2 separate regions of the Homo sapiens genome follow, and region 1 is linked to region 2. Evidence: promoter capture Hi-C in 16 types of primary human blood cells and fetal thymus (Javierre and others, 2016). All regions are on one chromosome and are shown on one strand. Each heading gives the region's core, a stretch centred on a gene start or on the middle of the fragment in contact. The rest is flanking DNA. Distances are from core to core; before and after follow the strand shown. Region 1 holds the start of ZNF416 (zinc finger protein 416). Region 2 holds the start of ZNF260 (zinc finger protein 260).

Region 1 (5,889 bases), core at 2,211-4,710, about 21 Mb before region 2:
ATTGGGGAGACAGATTTGAGCTGGACTCCTGTCTTCTTGTTTGTCGACTTGCAATAAAGGTTTGCTTTTCTCAAAAACCTGGTGCCATGGCATTGGCTTCTGTGTGCGTCGGACAGCAACCCTTTTCCTTATTAACACTGGCACCCTCTAGGTGACACGGTTGTGCACCTCATTACCCTCTGGTCCCAGAGGCCAGCAGCCCCCACAATGGCCACCTAACACCTGCCCTCACCCTCACTGTCCTTTCAGAGTTGCCACATCACATCAAACATGGCTCCCCAAACTTCAAGCATGTGTGTCCATCTAGGCATAGAACTAGCGGAATTGCCTGGATAACTTGGGGAGGAGGGATAGCCTAGTTCGGAAAACCTGCTCTGTGTGGCATGCCCAGGGGACAAATGACCCACCTACTCCTGAGGCCCAGTCCTTCAGGGAGAAGCCCAGCCAGAGATGAGGGAGGCTGCCAGTGGTCACAAAGCAGTAATAAATTCCATCTATGGCTAAACTTATGTGAGACCAACAGTCAATAAGTACCTAAAGAGAAAGCTGAAAAAACATTGAAGATAGAGTGCAAGAAAGTGTGAAGCCCTTAGGATGTGGATGGGTTGTTTTGTGTTTTCTTTCTGTGTTTGTCTATTTGGCACAGCTATTCAAGTATAGCTTGGCAGCGTCATTCATATAGTCCACTAACTTCGATTACTGTTCACCCAGTTAATCCCAAGGGATTCCGCAGGTGTGGGGAGTGTTGACCTCAAGGACCATGACATCTAGCAAGGGACTGAAGATAGTGGAGGCCAGCTCCATCTGCAGGTAGAACATTCCAGAGGGCCCAGGTTTAGCTCCATCCTGTCTTTATTTTTTTGATTTCTTATCTTTAGTCTTTAGGGGTACATAGTAGGTGTATATATTTATGAGTTATATGGTGTAGTTTGATACAGGCACACAGTGTGTAATAATCACATTGGGATAAATGGTATTCATCACCTCAAGCATTTATCATTTCTTTGTGTTATAAGCATTCCAGTTATACTCTTAGTCACGTTTAATTCTTTTTTTTTTTTTTTTTTTTTGAGACGAAGTCTTGCTCTGTTGCCCAGGCTGGAGTGCAGTGGCGCGATCTCAGCTCTCTGCAAGCAACGCCTCCCGGGTTAACGCCATTCTCCTGCCTCAGCCTCCTTAGTAGCTGGGACTACAGGTGACCACCACCACGCCCGGCTAATTTTTTGTATTTTTAGAGATTTATTATAGAGATTTGATTTTAGAGATGGGGTTTCACCGTGTTAGTCAGGATGGTCTCGATCTCCTGACCTTGTGATCTGCCCGCCTCGGCCTCCCAAAGTGCTGGGATTACAGGCGTGAGCCACCATGCCCGGTGAGTTATGTTTAATTCTACAATAGATTGTTGTTGACTGTAGTCACCTTGTTGTGCTATCAAATACTATGTCTTATTCCTTCTATCTGACTATATTTTTGCACCCATTAACTATCCCCACTTTCCCTTCCATTTCTGCTATCCTTCTCAGCCTCTGGTAGCCATCCTTCTAAGCTTAATCTCCGGGAGTTCAATTGTTTAAATTTTTAGCTCCCACAAATAAGTGAGAACATGTGAAGTTTGTCTTTCTGTGCCTGGCTTATTTTACTTAACATAATTTCCTCCAATTTCACCCGTCTTCTTGCAATTGATGGGATCTCATTCTTTTTTTATGGCTAAATACTACTCCATTGTGTATATGCATCACATTTTCTTTATCCATTTATCTATGGACAGTTAGGTAGCTTCCAAATCTTGGCTGTTGTGAATAGTGATGCAATAAACATGGGAGTGCAGATCTCTATTAGATATACTGATTTCTTTTCTGGGTGGTGTAAACTGTATCATATGGTAATTCTATTTTTACTTCTGTGGGGAACCTCCAAACTGTTCCCCATAGTGGCTTTACTAATTTACACTCCCACCAACAGCGTATGAAGTTTCCCTTTCCTCTCTGTCCTGGCCAGCATTCATTATTCCCTGTCTTTTGCATAAAAGTCATTTTAACTAGAGTGAGATGATATCTCATTGTAGTTTTGATTTGCATTTTTATAGTGATCAATGATGTTAAGCATGTTTTCATCTACCTGCTTGCCATTTATCTGTCTTTTAAAATTTTTAGTTTTATGAGTACATAGTATGTATGTATATTTATGGGATACGTGAGATATTGTGATACAGGCATACAATGTGTAATAATCATATCAGGGTACACAAGCATTTATCATTTCTTTGTGTTACAAACATTCTAGTTATAATACTCTTTTAGTTGTTTTTAATGTACAATAAATTACTGTTGACTGTAGTCTCTCTACTGTGCTATCAAATACTAGATCTTATTCATTCTACCCTGTCTTAAGGAGGCCTTGGTAGCCATGCTGAGGTTATGGGGTGCTGCTTCCAAAACCAAAAGTATTATGGGCAGCTGGTATGAAGGATCATAGGCTTATGGTCTGTGAGATCCTGTATGTTTAAGAAAGCCCAGTCTTATTGCCAGTAATTACTGTTTTAATGGTGTATAGCATGAGGCTGAAAGAGACAGTTTCCTGCATTGGAAGCTTTTACTCAACAAATGGCCGTTGTATGTGGTTCAGAGATTCCAAGAGGCATGAGAAGTGTAAACCAAAAATAAAATTCCCAGCCCCCCAACCATCTGAATGCATCCTTCCTCTTGGCCAAGGGCATTCCAAAGTTAATCTGAAAAACTAGTTCAGGACGTGATGGGAAGTGAGGGTCAGACTTGCCCTCCTCCCCTTGGAATTCAGGCACAACTGACCAGCATTAACATTAAAACAGAGATTTTAAGACTTCTTGTAGCAATAAGACAGTGAATTCCAGCCTGATTGTAGTATAGCATTACATGACAGATAGCAGGCCCTGAAAGGAATTGAAGTATTTTACTCTAAACTTTATTTATTTGACATATTTTGAAGAGGCCCTGCAAAGGTGTGTCTTGTGGAATCTGCATTTTGCTGAGAATCCCCTTTCCTCTCCAGGGTTTTTTTATTTTCATGGTCCAGGAAAGAATTAAGAGTCTGGCACCTTTCAAAGTCTGATAGGAAACATTTACAATCTATTCCCTCTGAAGCCTGCTGCGTGAAAGCTTCATCTGCTTAATAAGAACCTTGGTCTCTACAACCTCTTATCTTAACCCAGACACTCCCTTCAGTGGGTATGGGACTGCGGAAATCGGCCAGCGGCCCCTTTAAGGAGCAGCAAGTCCCTGTCTCGCTCTTGGTGTCGCGCCTTTTCCTAGCGCCCTCCGCGGGCCGCTTAGCCCTTGTTCCGGGTGAATCTCAGGGAGGGCACCGGAACCCTGGGCTTCTGAGAACTACATTACCCATAATGCCGAGCGCCAAGCTGCAAAGACGCGGAGCCAATCAACGTTCAGGAACGGACCTGTCTCCGTTTGTTGCATACGGTAAGGCGGGACTTCCGGCACCGCTCCGAGATGGTAATTTTGGTGGTTCTCTACCTCGGCCCACGCCGCCTGAGTTAGAAACGCTGCCTCCGGCACAGAGCGGGGGTCGCCCCGCTGCGCATCAGCCGGTGGGTCGCTGGCGCTGGTGGCAGCCGTGCCTGGGTTCCCGCCCCGGGTCGCCCGCCGCTCCCGGCCCCGCTCCGCTCACAATCCGATGGCGGCGGCCGTGCTTAGGGATTCGACTTCGGTGAGTGCTGCGTCTCCCGGGCCTCACCTGCCCTCTCCGCCGGAAATCCAACACCCTGCATGAGGGGCGCCTGCTTGCGTCCCTGCAGCCCGACCCTAGAGTCCAGGACTATGAGGCCCTCGCGGGTGGGGCTCCCATTTACAAGCCTGGTGTCGTGGGCTGTGGAGGGTGTGGCAGGCGGAGGGGCCGGTTTCTGTGAATCTTGCTGGGACGATTGAGCCAGTAACGTTCACGCCCGAATGGTAAAATGAGGCTCTTTCTTTTCAAGACGCTGAGAGCCATGGGTGGTTGTGAACAGACGAGGCACATGGTCTGAGTTAGACTTTTCAAATTTTTTCTAAAGTTACTCAGAGTTGGAACAGCCTGGAAGGGGGATAACACCGAGGCACAGGGAAGTTGAGTCCTTGTGCAAGGTCCCACAGCAGGTAAGAGTCACACGGAACTGAGGAGCAATAATAATTTAGTCATCACCAAGTCACCTGGCTCCAGGGCTGCGCAGGGAAACAAGGAGGCATCAGCCCATGGAGCTTCCACCATAGTTACCTGCCTCTCATAGCCTTCCTCTTCCCGCAGGTTCCCGTGACTGCAGAAGCTAAACTTATGGGCTTTACACAGGTGAGTGGAGAGTGTTTCGGGCCCTCACTGATGCTGACCCCAGTGTTTGTCTCTGAGATTGTGTTCTGGGACTCTTCTCTTGGCACTCTTTGGGTCCTTGGTTCTAGGAATCCTGAACAAACATCAGTCCCAGGGTCATACATCCAGGCTGGAAGCTGGTATAGAATGGTTCCTATTGCTGGGAACCAGTAAAGTAAGGTGTGGAACGTTGTCTCAGGCTTAGATACCAGATGAGCAAGTGCTTGAAGGTCAGGCTGAGCTGGTTTAGGAAACTACAGCTGTTTTCTTTCTCATGGGAACTGAAAGCTGGGATGCAGGAATCAGACAAAAAATGGCTGTCAGTTGTCGGGTGTTTCTTCTGGAGTGTGTGATGAGCAATGACAGTTTGGGGGCAGAGGAGGTATGTGATCTGATCCAGGTCTCATCAGGTTCCCTGTGTGTGGCCAAGCTGAGAGAACAGGCTGAGTGTGAGGTATGAGATAGGAAGATAGTGAAGAAGGCTGCTGCAGTAGTCCAGGTGAGTGTTACTGGTGGCTGGACTTGTGTGGTGGCTGTGGAGGTGGTAGTTGGATTTTAGATCAGTTTTTTTAAGTAGGGAAGCCTGGATTTTGAGATAGAAAAGTAGGATTTAGGGGTAAAAGCAAGGTGTTTGGGTTTAGCAGCTGGAAATATGGAAGCTCCACTAGCGAGGATTGTAAAGTTGGTAGTAGAGTCAGTTATCTCTAGAGATAATCAGAAATTTTGATATGGACCATCTTTATTTTTAAAATTTTTTAATAAAAATCATCTGAACATGGCCCAATGGGACATCTTTTAGAGTCTGAGATGTTTCAAAGAACAGTTAGTTTAGACATGAAGTGGATAGTTTATCCTACAGGACTAGAACTGTGTTGAGGGATTCAGGATAGAGACATTTAAAAGGTGGTGGCCACTACTTGCCTAGGGGTATAGCTTGGGACACAATTAGGAGGTGGAATCGTGATCACTTTGGTAATGCTATTACCAGCCCAGGGAAGGAAGGTTGGGGGTCACTACTGGCTCTCCTGCTTGGGGACATGGTTGGTCATGGTGGGAATCACAAAGACAGGTATGGGAGAGAGGTGGCTATGGTAGGGTGTGAGAGCAAGGATGATCTGGCAAGTGGCCAAGGATCTAGGAGAAGAGTGGGCATGAGATCAATGCTTGGAAGTAATTGAGACAAGATGACACTGAGACCAGAACTAGTGCTTACTCAGCACTCTGGATATATCTACCAGGGTTTTGTGGCAACCCTTGAGGTGTCAGGAATTTCAGGGAGGTGGATAAGTTGAGGGGCACAGGTGGTCATCTGGGAGTTATTGGGCCTGAGGTGTGGGGGTCCCCTGGGGCAGACTTTGAATGAGGGTTAGCAGGAGAGGAAGGCTGTGACTTAAGAGAGGACATCAAGTGCAGCGCTAGTGCAAGAGGGCCATCGGTGTCAGATCCCCAGGTATTTCTGGGTGACTGAGGATGTAGAAAGGGACAGAGTCAGGCAGGGAGGCCTTCAGAGCAGGGTCTCTGAAGGGCTGCCTTTGGCAGTGGGGACCATTCAGCCTG
Region 2 (5,651 bases), core at 2,983-5,482:
ATAGTAATGGTGATACATATATTCTTGTCTCTTTCCTTATGTAACGGAAATGCTTCTAGTATTTCCCTGTTAAGAACTCAATTGGCATTTAAGAATCCAAATCTGGCCAGGTGCGGTGACTCATGCCTGTAATCCCAGCACTTTGGGAGGCCAAGGCAGGCAGATCACTTGAGGTCAGGAGTTCGAGACCAGCCTGGCCAATATGGCGAAACCCCATCTCTACTAAAAATACAAATTTAGCCGGGAGTGGTGGTGGGCACCTGTAATCTCAGCTACTCGGGAGGCTGAGGCAGGAGAATCGCTTGAACCTGGGACACAGAGGTTGCAGTGAGCCGAGACAGTGCCACTGCACGCCAGCCTGGACGACAGAGTGAGACTCCGTCTCAAAAAAAAAAAAAAAAAAAAAGAATTGGCTGGGTGCGGTGGCTCATTCCTGTAATCCCAGCCCTTTGGGAGGCCAAGGTGGGCGGATTGCTTGAGGTCAGGAGTTCGAGACCAGCCTGGCCAACATGGTGAAACTCCGTCTCTACTAAAAATACAAAAAATTAGCCAGGCGTGGTGGTGTGCACCTGTAATCCCAGCTACTCAGGAGGCTAAGGCAGGAGACTCGCTTGCACCCAGGAGGTGGAAGTTGCAGTGAGCCGAGAGTGTGCCACTACACTCCAGCATGGGCAACAGAGCAAGACTCTGTCTCAAAAAAAAAAAAAAAAAAAAAAGAAATATATATTAATCAAAATTAATAATCAAGTTTAAATGTGAGAAAAATTGGTTATATTTTATGCTTTACAGAAACTTAATAAATAATCAAAGAAAACAATAAATAATCAAAGCAGTGAATATCTTTCGCCCAACATCAAAAGTCCTATGGATGATGAAGAACTTATACCCAGTCTGAAGAATGTTGGCTTATAACACCCCTTGGCATACCTCTTCACTACCCCAGAGGTAGAGTTAACACAGAGTAATCTCAGAGAGTAACAGAAACCTAAGGCAATCTGGGCATGTTTCCTCTGTGCAACCAAAAAGAAACTAAGTAGCACTGCTATCATTTATTAACTACTTACTATTCTTTCATTAATCAAATATTTACTGAGAGCCAACTATGTGCTAGCCATTGTAAATGGTGAAGATGGAACAACTAAACAAAAAGACAAGTCCCTTCTTTCACAAGCTTGAGTCTAGTTACAATGAAGAAAATTAAAGTGCAACTACACATTTCATGCATAGATAGGTAGAATATACATATCTTCTAATCAAATTGCTTTCACACAACATATATAACTTAAAATCCTCTATTTTCATTTAATATGACATTGTAAACTCTCATCTCCTTCCTTCCATTATAAATGCATGGTTATGGCCGGGCATGGTGGCTCACACCTGTAATCCCAGCACTTTGGGAGGCCGAGGCAGACGGATCACCTGAGGTCAGGAGTTTGAGACCAGCCTGGCCAACATGGTGAAACCCCATCTCTTCTAAAAATACAAAAATTAGCCAGGCATGGTGGTGCACGCCTGTAGTCCCAGCTACTCAGGAGGCTGAGGCAGGAGCATCACTTGAACTCAATAGGCAGAGGTTGCAGTGAGCTGAGATTGCGCCACCGCACTCCAGACTGGGCAACAGAGCAAGTTTCTGTCTCAAAAAAAAAAAAAAAAAAATGCATGGTTATGAGATAGCTGCTCTGCATGTAGCACAATATCCACATTCCAGACAGAAAGGGGAAAAAGAATGTATGCACACTGAGCCTGCCCCACCCCATCCCCATACCTTTAAAGAACTGCCTGAGTGGCCAGGTGCAGTAGCTCATGCCTGTAATCCCAGCACTTTGGGAGGCCTAGGCAGGCAGATCACCTGAGGTCAGGAGTTCGAGACCAGCCTGGCCAACATGGTGGAAACCTCATCTCTACTAAAAACACAAAAATTAGCCGGGCATGGTGGCAGTCGCCTGTAATCCCAGCTACTCAGGAGCCTGAGGCAGGAGAACCGCTTGAACCCGGGAGGTGAAGGTTGCAGTGAGCTGAGATCACGCTACTGCACTCCAACTTGGGTGACTGAGTGAAGACTCCATTTCAAAAAAAAAAAAACTGTCTGAGAAGCCCAATCTAAGAACTTTAACTTACATCAACAGGAGAAGCTAGAACACGTAGAGTTTGGGTTTTTTGTTTGTTTTCTGTTTGTTTTTCTTTAAGCAGAGCAAACAAGATCAGGACTTTTATAGCAATAAAGAAGGGAATGGATATTGGGTTAGCCACATATGTGGCAAAACAATTAACAGTATCTACAATTTAATATATTCTCAAATAGCTTTCAATTATGTAGGAAGTTAAAATATCACTTAAAACATGAGATACATTTCAATATGTGCATATACAAATATGTGTATGTATATTTATGTATATGCATATATATCTACATATGTATATAGGTAAAACCAAACTAAGCATACATGATAAACTGAACCATTTGCTATATTAATAAGACAAAATTAGGAAGATTTTTCCAAAGAGTAACAGAAGATTCCAGGTTACTTGATAAGTCCTTTTAGGCATTTGCTAAGAAAAAAAAAATCAGCCGGGCGCAGTGGCTCATGCCTGTAATCCCAGCACTTTGGGAGGCCGAGGTGGACGGTTCACAAGGTTAGGAGTTCAAGACAAGCCAGGCCAACATAGTGAAGCCCCGTCTCTACTAAAAATACAACAACAAAAAAATTACCCGGGCGTGGTGGCCGGCACCTGTAATCCTAGCTACTCGGTAGGCTGAGGAAGGAGAATCGCTTGAACCTGGGAGGCGGAGGTTGCAGTGAGCCGAGATCGCGCCACTGCACACCAGCCCGGGCGACAGTGCGAGACTCCATCTCAAAAAAAAAAAAAATCAGGTCCTGGAAAAATAAAGCATTTCAGGAACAAAGAGAAAACTTCAAGGCACCTTAAACATGGCTTTTAGATATCACAACCGTTATTTCCTCTCCTCTGGGGAACCTCTCTTGGAGGACAGAAATGAGAAGGGAGACAATACACCTCCCCTAGGGCCCAAATGACAAGGCCAGAGCTTACTCTGCGTTCCCCTCCCCCGCCATGGGAGGGCTATCAGAGGAAACTGGGGCTTCCAACTCAAAACTCAGTGTCATAGAAAAATCCCCTTTACTATCACGGGGCCGAGCTGTCTTCTGCTCTCACATATGACTATGTGTGACATTTGGTCAAAGACACACAAACACAGTCTCAACTCCACGCACACCCAATGCTTCACAGTCACACACCCACCACTGTACACAAAGTCACAAGCACCCACCCTCCATACTCCCACACAAGGACACAGAGTCACAACTACATAAGTACAAAGCTCCCTATATCTGCACACAAACGAACATATGGTCACAGAGTTACAATCACACACCCACCGCGGGCACACAGTCACAGCTAACCCACACCCTCACACAGCGTTACACAGTCACACAATAACAGTCCTAACACAGGGACTCACGGGACACCCGCAGAGTCCTCCCCACATCCGTACACAAGGTGTCACACACAATCACAATCACACACACACTGTGCTAGGACATACATTCACAAAAACACAATTTCACAACCGCCCTTCTCGGCGCGTTCCGCCTGAACAGACTTAATACTCAGTCTCAACCTCCGCACCGGATTCCAGACGCTTCACCTCCAACCTCCTCCTGATCCTGTAGTCTCCGAGCCGACCCGCTCAGAGGCCAGCACCTGGGTCGCGTGCAGCTCTCCCCCGAGCCGCGGGAGTCGCGAGGGGAGGGGCCGAGGGCGCGGCGCCTTCTGGGAAATGTAGTTCAGCGCCACGCCCGCGATGAGCAAGATGGCGCCCGGCTTGAGCCCAGCCAAAGGGATTACCCTCATTCCCGAACCGTGTCTGAGAGTCTCCTGGGGTTCCTGGCTTAGTATCGCACCGTGGCTGTTACATAAAGTCAGCACAGCGTGTTTAAGCTGATGTTACACCACTACCCAATCCCAGGGATAGAGTAAACTAAGACTAAGGCCTTACACCCCTGCCCCGGCCAGGGAGACAGTCCCACAAGCTCTGGCGGAGGAAAAGTTCGCGCGAAAAGCTGACTCAAACCGCTGAACCTTCTGGGAAATGTAGTCTACCCTCAAAAGAGTGGCACGGAGGACGGGCCAAGATCTCTCGATTCCGTCCGGTTCTGAGTCGGGGCCTGGCCCAGCCCAGGAGACCTCTGGGAGCGCTGCCCGCGGAAGGAGTGCGCAGGCGCGGAATCTCCGACTTGCCATGGTCGTCTTTGTCTGCCGGTGAGTTGGGTTTCGGCCCTGTGGGACTTGGGTTTCTGGACACTGAAACGGGCCAGGGACGCTGGAGGGGAGGATTTGCAGTGCCTGCGACGGGGCTGGGAGTATGGAGGGGAGGAATCGCCTTCTATGATGTGCGGTGATCCGAGCTTGTGTGGCTGGGGGCAGGGGTACAGTTCGGGTGGGTTCGCGGGTGGGTGACCGAGAGTGTGAGGGGGTGTTGAGGGTGCAGAGTTAGTGAGAAACTGGTTCCAAGTTTGTGAGGATGGACGGATGGCTTTGTGAGGTAGTAACCTCTAAGCCTCACTTTTCTCATTTCTAAAATAATAAAGATGCGTTTTCTGGAAAATAGGAAACGGAAAAGGCTAAGGAATTGAGCGGATAAGTAATTTTAAAGGTGATTTTTTATATAAAAGCAGACCTATTGTGGAGTAGAAAACAAAATCAGCATTACCTTTCCATTATTTTTTTAAAGAGGCAAGATTTCGGAAAAACTTGTTACTGGGTGCCTGTACACCCAGTAGGCATTGACTTTTCTTAATACTTTGGAGAAACTTTGGTGCAGTTGCTTGGAGAAACCCTGAACTAAGGAATATCTTTAAGAGGTAGTTTCCAATAGCGCAGACGGCACAGAATTTGGAAGCTACTTGTCCTGCCTTTAGCGCAGAGGTCAAGAAACTCCCTAGTTCGTCAGTGAGGGCAGCAATCTCACTCCTAATTTAATCAGGGTTTCCCCAGCCTTTTGTAAATATAGGGGAAATTCTTTTCTTGTGTATACAAAGATAGAAGTATCCTATCTTCAAGTATCTTGTCACACTTATTCTTAACATATCAACATATTCAAGTATCTTGTCACACTTATTCTTAACATATTTTTCAATAAAATAAAAAAGTAACAGGGTTAATAGTTTTGAAATATACAGAAAAAGTAAAAGATACAAAGAAGACAGGACTTAGTTTCTGCTTTTCCCCTAACTATTGGTGTTTCTAAGTTTCTGGCCTTGATCATCTAAGTACTCCTATCAGCAACAACATTACACTGCCATCCATGGCTTCATCTAATACAGATGACTAATAAATGTCTGTTTCTGCTGGAGGCTTGTCCTGAGCTCCTAATCCATATTATCTAATTGCCCAATGTGCAGTCCACCTGGAAGTTACAGGGAACTTCAAGCTCTTTATGTCTAAAGGGCTCCTTCTTCCTGCAGTCTGCCTCCATCTATTTCCCCTCTGTACCTGTTTCAGCAATTTATAGCACTGTCTAGCCAGGTTCTAAGGCACTTACATCTTAGAGAAGGCTTCTAAGTAAGTTTGATCCTTTGATTTGTTATATCCCATTACAAATTGTAAACCAAGGTTTCTCAGCACAC

What was found. Contacts are between HindIII fragments. The CHiCAGO score rates a contact against its expected background, and 5 or more counts as called.
Region 1: the fragment with the promoter of ZNF416 here is called in contact with the fragment with the promoter of ZNF260 in region 2 in 4 of 17 cell types (non-activated CD4 T cells, naive CD4 T cells, total CD4 T cells and 1 more); the score reaches 7.9 in non-activated CD4 T cells.

What each region holds. Positions count from the first base shown.
Region 1 is chr19:57,576,482-57,582,370 of GRCh38, reverse strand. ZNF416 (zinc finger protein 416) reads left to right here and starts at 3,460. Exons shown (of 4, transcript NM_017879.3): 1 at 3,460-3,699; 2 at 4,273-4,314. The coding sequence starts at 3,667. RefSeq lists a silencer at 3,551-3,770. The HindIII fragment of the contact is 6,514 bases long and covers 3,137-5,889 here.
Region 2 is chr19:36,526,852-36,532,502 of GRCh38, reverse strand. It overlaps ZNF260 (zinc finger protein 260), which reads left to right and starts at 4,232. Exons shown (of 3, transcript NM_001166037.2): 1 at 4,232-4,284. RefSeq lists enhancers at 3,505-3,704, 3,516-4,224, 3,855-4,484, 4,225-4,935. The HindIII fragment of the contact is 4,591 bases long and covers 1,174-5,651 here.